Linked DNA regions of Homo sapiens: region 1 is linked to region 2. The links are contacts of gene promoters, found by promoter capture Hi-C in blood cells and fetal thymus (Javierre and others, 2016). All regions are on one chromosome and are shown on one strand. The core of a region is centred on a gene start or on the middle of the fragment in contact, and the rest is flanking DNA. Distances in the headings are between cores, read along the strand shown.

Region 1 (3,403 bases), core at 6-2,505, 120 kb after region 2:
TCCCAGGCAAGATCGTGTCAGCCAGCAGGCCGACTGCATGCCAAGCACCTGAGACCTGCTCTGCTGCCGAGGCCTGACTTCTGGGACCACTTTCCAGAATTTGCTCATCACCTATTCCTGAGGATGCTACTCTCAAGCCCCACAGGGCCCACATGGCTGCGACTTTTCTGAGAATTGGCCCTGCTAGTGGATATAACTGCCACTAATGCCACTGTCCCTTCACTTGTACCCCGGATGTAACTGTATTCAGCTCAGGTGCCTTCATCAGCAGGAGCACTGTAAGCGTAATTTATTAAAAGTGAAACAATTGTACAAGCAGTTAATCAACCACCACAGGGCATAATTAATGAAGCAGCCTTCCCCTCCCCACCCCCATTGATTTTGTGAAACTCCCTTTTTCTTTCAGCTTGATCAAGTATTCCAAATTTAGAAAGCTCTAAGGTGGCCTACAGAAAAAGAAAAAGGCCACATAAGGTCCCTCTCACTTTCAGTAAATAGCAGCATATAAATACAAGAAAAAATAGATATTGTCTTGTGCAGCATTAAAAAATCAAAATAAAATAAATATGAGCAAAAATGGGTTTCTTGTATGTAGTCTATAATTGTTTAGTACATTTATAACTAATATCAAGATTACCAATATGCTTTGGTTACAATGCGTCGTCTTGATATTTGTTTTCTATTCATTGCATTTGTTCCTTGGTCCTTTTTGTTTTCATCTCCTTTCCATTTTCTCTCAGGTAAGCTTCTGACCCCACCCACCTGTTTTTAATGTTTTCAGCCCCCATGCGAATAACTGTTACTACTGGAACATACTAGGTTGGGTTCTGTTCTCTTCTAAACAAAATTTAGCAAAAGGCACAGTGATTTCCCATATTCACCTGCACCCACACATGCATGGCCTCCCCACGACCAGCAACCCCTACCAAAATGGCCTATTTGTTGCAACTGATGAACCTTTATTGACATAGTTGACATTAGGGTTCACCGTTGGTGCTGTACATTCTATGGGGTTGAACACATGTATAATGACATGCATCCACTATTTCAGTGTCATACAGAGTAGTTTCACTGCCCTAAAAATCCTGTGTCCCACCTTCACCCTTCCTTCCACTCCAATCATTGGCAACCATTGATCTTTTTCCTGTCTTAATAGTTTTGCCTTTACGGAATGTCATGTAGTTGGAATCATACAGTATGTAGCCTTTTCAGACTGATTTCTTTCACTTAGTAATTTGCATTTAAGTTTCTTTCGTGTCGCTTCATGGCTTGATAATTTCATTTTAGTGCTGAATGATACCCTTTTGTCTGGATGTATCTGGTTTATTTATGCATTTAACTGTTAGAGGTCATCTTGGTTTCTTCTAATATTTCCCAGTTAGGAATAAAGTTAGGTTCTATAAGTATCCATGTGTAGGTAATTGTGTGGACATAAGTTTTCAAGTCCTTTGGGTAAATACCAAGGAGTGTGCTGGTTGGATTGTATGGTAAGGGTATGTTTAGTTTTGTAAGAAGCCTCCAAAGTATCTTCCAAAGTAGCTGTACCATTTTGCATTTCCACCAGCAATGAGAGTTCTTGTTGCTACAGATCCTCACCAGTGTTTGGTGGTGTCAGTATTCTGAATTTTGGGCATTTTAATTGGTGTTAGTAGTATCTCATCATCATTTTAATTTGTATTTCCATGGTAACACAGGATGTAGAATATCTTTTCATATGTTTGTTTGCTATTTGTTTATCTTCTTTGGTGAGGTTCTGTTAAGCTTGCTGGCCCATTTAAAAAATTGGGTTTCTCGTTATCTTATTTTTGAGTTTTAAAGAATTCTTTGTATATTGGGGATAACAGTCCTTTATCAATTATGTCTTTTGCAAATATTTTCTCCCAAAGGCTTGTCTTTTCATTCTCTTGACAGTGTCCTTTGCTGAGCAGAAGTTGTTACTTTTAATGAAGTCCAACTTATCAGTTCTTTCTTTCATAGATCATGACTTTGGTGTCACAACTAAAAAGTTATTGCTAAACCCAAGCTCACCTAGATTTTGTCCTATTACCTTCTAGGAGCGTTATAGGTCTGTGTTTTATATTTAGGTCTGCGATTCATTTTGAGTTAATTTTTGTGAAGGGTGTAAGGTCTGTGTCTGGATTCTTTTTTTTTTTAAATGTGGATGTCTATTATAACAAACATTCTATTTTTCTTCAACGTATTGCCTTTGTTCTTTGACAAAGATCAGTTGACTATATTTATGTGCGTCAATTTCTGGACTCTATTGTGTTCCATTGATCTATTGATTTATTCTTTTGCAAATACCACATTGTCTTAATTATCGTAGATTTAGAGTAAGTCTTCGAGTCAGGTGTGTCAGTCCTCCAACTTTGTTCTTCTCTTTCAATATTGAATTGGCTATTAAGTGTGCTTTGGCTCTGCATATAAAATTTAGAATACTCTGTTGATATCTGTGAAATAAACTTGCTGGGATTTTGACAGGGATTGCATTGGAATCTATAGATCAAGTTGGGAAGAACAGACATCCTAAAAATATTGAGTCCTTGTATTCATGAACATCAATTGTCTATCCGTTTATTTAGTTTTTCTTTGATTTCTTTCATCAGGGTTTTATAGTTTGCCTTACATAGATCTTGTGCATATTTTGTTAAATTTATAACTAAGTATTTCATTTTACAGGGTGCTAATTTAAATGGTATTATGTGTTTTAGAATACGTGCTGCCAAAGTGAGCACATAAATGGTATTATGTTTTTCAGTTTTCACTTGTTCATTGTTGATATAAAGAAAAGTGATTGGCTGGGCGCGGTGGCTCATGCCTGTAATCCGAGCACTTTGGGAGGCCGAGGCAGGCAGATCACAAGGTCAGGAATTCGAGACCAGCCTGGCCAATATGGTGAAACCCAGTCTCTACTAAAAATACAAAAATTAGCCGGGTGTGGTGGTGCACCTGTAGTCCCAGCTACTCGGGAGGCTGAGGCAGAAGAATCACTTGAACCCGGGAGGCGGAGGTTGCAGTGAGCTGAGATCGCACCACTGCACTCCAGCCTGGGTGACAGAGTGAGACTCCATCTTAAAAGAAAAGAAAAAGAAAAGTGACTGACTTTTGTATATTAAACTTGCATCCTGCACCCTTGCTATAATCACTTATTCCAGAAGTTTTTTTTTCTTGGTTATTTTATATTGTCTGCATAGGTAATCATGACATCTGCAAACAAACACGGTTTTATTTTTTCCCTTCTCAGTCTGTATATATTTTATTTCCTTTTTTTAAATTTTATTAGCTAGGATTCCCATTACAATGTTGAAAGACAGTGATGAGAGAGAACACCCTTGCCTTGTTCCTGATCTTAGTGGGAAAACTTCATGATTCTCACCATTAAGTATGATGTTAGCTGTAGGTT
Region 2 (3,262 bases), core at 763-3,262:
AGTAGCTGGGACTACAGGCACGTGCCACCACACCTGGCTAATTTTTTGTATTTATTTTAGTAGAGATGGGGTTTCACCATATTGCCCAGGCTGGTCTCCAATTCCTGGGCTCAAGTGATCCACCCATCTCAGCCTCTCAAAGGGGAAGATCCTGGGCATTGGGACTGAGGTGTTTTTGATACGTTCATGCAAAGATGCCTGGAGTGGGTGGTTGGATTTCTGGGTTGTTTGATTCATAATTGCTTGATTCATAATTGCCAAAACCTGGAAACAATGAAGATATCTTTCAGTAAGCGAATAGATAAAACTGTGATATATCGACACAATGGAATATTATTCAGCACTAAAAAGAAATAGGAGCTATCAAGCCATGAAAAGACATGGAGGAAACTTCAATGCCTGTTACTACGGGAAGGAAGCCAATCTGAAACGGCTACATACTATGTAATTCCAACTAGATGACACTCTGGAAAAAGGCAAAACTATGGAGACAAAAAGATCAGCGGTTGCCAGGGGTAGAGGAGAGGGAGAGATGAATATGCAGAGCACAGATGATTTTTAAGACAGTGAAATTACTCTGCATTATACTGTGATGGTGGGTAATGATGTATCAATGTAGGTTCATCAGTTCTTTTGTTTGAGATGGAGTCTCGCTCTGTCTCGCTCTGTCGACAGGCTGGAGTGCAATGGCTCAATCTCGGCTCACTGCAACCTCCGCCTCCCCGGTTCAAGCAATTCTCCTGCCTCAGCTCCCGAGTAGCTGGGACTACAGGTGCCCGCCACCACGACCGGCGAATTTTTGTATTTTTAGTAGAGACGCGGTTTCACCATGTTGGCCAGGATGGTCTCGATCTCCTGATCTCGGGATCCGCCCGCCTCGGCCTCCCAAAGTGTTGGGATTACAGGCGTGAGCCACCAGGCCGGGCCGGGTTCATCAGTTCTAAGAAATGTACCACTCTGGTAGAGGATGTTGATAAAGGGAAGGCGATGCATGTGGGGAGGTGGGGCGGGGAGTATTTGGAAAATATCTTTCTGCTCAATTTTGTTAACTTTAAACCACTTTAAAAAAACAAAGTCTATCAAAAATTATAGTTTACATTGTTTTTACTCTTTTTCTCTTTCTGGTCTTGTCACAATCTCAAGGTAAGGGAAATATCGGTGACAACTATAGAGTGATATTCCACTGCCATTTATACTCGATAGTTTCTAATTCAAGAGCCTCTCAACAGTGTAACAGGAACTTAGAGCATATGTGGAGCCAGTAGAGGAACAGAGATCGGGTTGTTTGGAAACTACTCTCTTCCAGGAAGGGAAGAACATTAGCTCGGCCGGCCGGCTTCTCTGGTCCCATCCACACACAGAACTGAGGATGGTCTCTGCGCCACTGCTGGGAGTACCTGGAATAAGTAGTGTGAAGCCGTACTAAGCAAAACCCAGTGAATAACAGGAAAGGGGCCTTCATATCTAAGAAGAGGAAAATGATGGAGTTTAACTTTAAAATGTGATCCTTCGATGTGTTTACATTCTTTCTGGACATCGAGGGCCCGGGGACGGGAAGGAGGAATGAAGGAACTCGGAAGCACAGGCTGAGGTCGCGTTCTACTCATGTCCTCAACTGTAAAATGGGCACTAATAGTGCATAGCTCACAGGGCTGCAGCACAAAGACGGTGGGTAGAAAGTGCTTAGCATAGGGCCTGGGGCAGGGTATGCTCTCTGCAAACGTCAGCTAATAGACGTGCCTTCGCTCACGGGCTATGGAACTTTGATTCGCGGTCAGGCAAAGACAGGCACTGTCTGGGGCCTCTGGAAGCTCCTAAATCAGGTGAGACGCGCAAGCAGGCTGGAACCTGCATCCCCAGGCCCAGCCGCGCGCAGGCACCCTCGCCGACCCTCCGCTCTCCCGAGCCGCTCCAGGACCCGCCCGCTGTGGCCCCGCCCCGGCACCCTCCAGGCCCCGCCCCGCGCTGCCCCGCCCCTTCCGCCGCGCAGGCCCAGAGCGTGCGCGCACCCAGACTCCTTGCGGGAGCGAGTGCGTCTGGGAGCCCGCGGCCGGAGAAGGGCTGCGGGTTAGGGGGCCGGCGCCCGCGGTTCAGGTGAGGGCGGGCAAGGGGCGGCGAAAGGGTTGAAGTGTCTCCTGGGAGTGGAGGGAGCGGGAGCGGGCGGCTGGGTCCGCGAGGTCGCTGCCCGTGTGGGCGTGGGGAGCGGGAGCGGGGCGTGGGGAGCGGTGCGACGCGTGAGGCTGGGGGTTAGGGTTAGGCACGGCGTGGGGGAGGGGCGGGGCCGAGCCGTGCAGTTCTGAGGATTGGACCCGGGCCTTGGGCCAGCCGGGCTGGCACCGGAGGGGAATTTGCTGCAGAGTTGAGGGCTTTGGAGCCGGCGGTTGCTCTGGAAGGACCCGAGGGTTTAGCTTCTGCGTTGGGGAGGGTCCAGCGGGGAAAGTTAGACCAGGTGCTGAAAGCCAGTGATGAGAGGCCGAGAGGCCTTCGTGGTCTAGTGAAGAGGTTCAGAACGCCCGAAGATCTGGAAATCCTTGGCTTCCGGGGTCCAACTCCCTGGCAGCTGCCTGGTTTTGGTATTTTGAGATTCTGTTCAGAATAGTGGCAGTGCAAAGGTTGTCAGTGGACTAGATTAACTTTAGCTAGACACGCACCGTCACTGAAGAAACTTGTGAGCAAGTTGTATAGAGACCTCCTAAGAGGCAGGTAGGACACTGACTTTGCAGTTGATAGTCTGTTCTATGCCAGTTCTGTTAAGAAGGTTTTATTCTGAGCATCAGGTTGCTTCTGCAATTTTTTTTTGGTGCTATTTTGAAGTTTTGTTAAACTCACATGCTATGTGCTGTCTCACCCGCTTCACTTATTTAGGCATAGGCATGATGAGGATGTCATTTCACCATGTGCTGAAGGGTGATGAGGGGGCACAGTTGCTTGGGGACCACCCACGTGACTTGACTCAACGCTTAAGTTTCTGCTATATCTTTACATGGATCTGAAATCTCTTCAAGGGAGCTTGAAATAATTTAGTGGAACATGCTTCATTTTACATATAGTTATTCTAGAACTGTTCTTTATCATTGGAGAATTTTGGAAAAGAAAAGTACCTGTATTACGTAATTCACACTGTCACTCATCTAGAGATTATTCATTGCAGGATTCCAGAATTGGAAATAACGGGAGGGAGGACCTGGTCCAGCTTCCCTTCCTCAAATAAGGAAATTGACACCTGGCGTGGTAAGATTTGTGGAATGTGGTGTTTGTGGAA

The links. Contacts are between HindIII fragments. The CHiCAGO score rates a contact against its expected background, and 5 or more counts as called.
Region 1: a contact is called between a fragment that was not itself captured here and the fragment with the promoter of NFRKB in region 2, in 3 of 17 cell types (non-activated CD4 T cells, naive CD4 T cells and total CD4 T cells). The highest score is 7.3, in non-activated CD4 T cells.

What each region holds. Positions count from the first base shown.
Region 1 is chr11:129,775,697-129,779,099 of GRCh38, reverse strand. All of the region lies in intron 1 of LOC124902793 (a long non-coding RNA gene), which reads left to right. Among named protein-coding and RNA genes, the nearest start is that of TMEM45B, 38 kb to the left of the region's middle. The HindIII fragment of the contact is 1,016 bases long and covers 748-1,763 here.
Region 2 is chr11:129,894,328-129,897,589 of GRCh38, reverse strand. It overlaps NFRKB (nuclear factor related to kappaB binding protein), which reads left to right and starts at 2,012. Exons shown (of 27, transcript NM_001143835.2): 1 at 2,012-2,094; 2 at 3,152-3,231. RefSeq lists a silencer at 1,856-2,295. The HindIII fragment of the contact is 7,376 bases long and covers 1-3,262 here.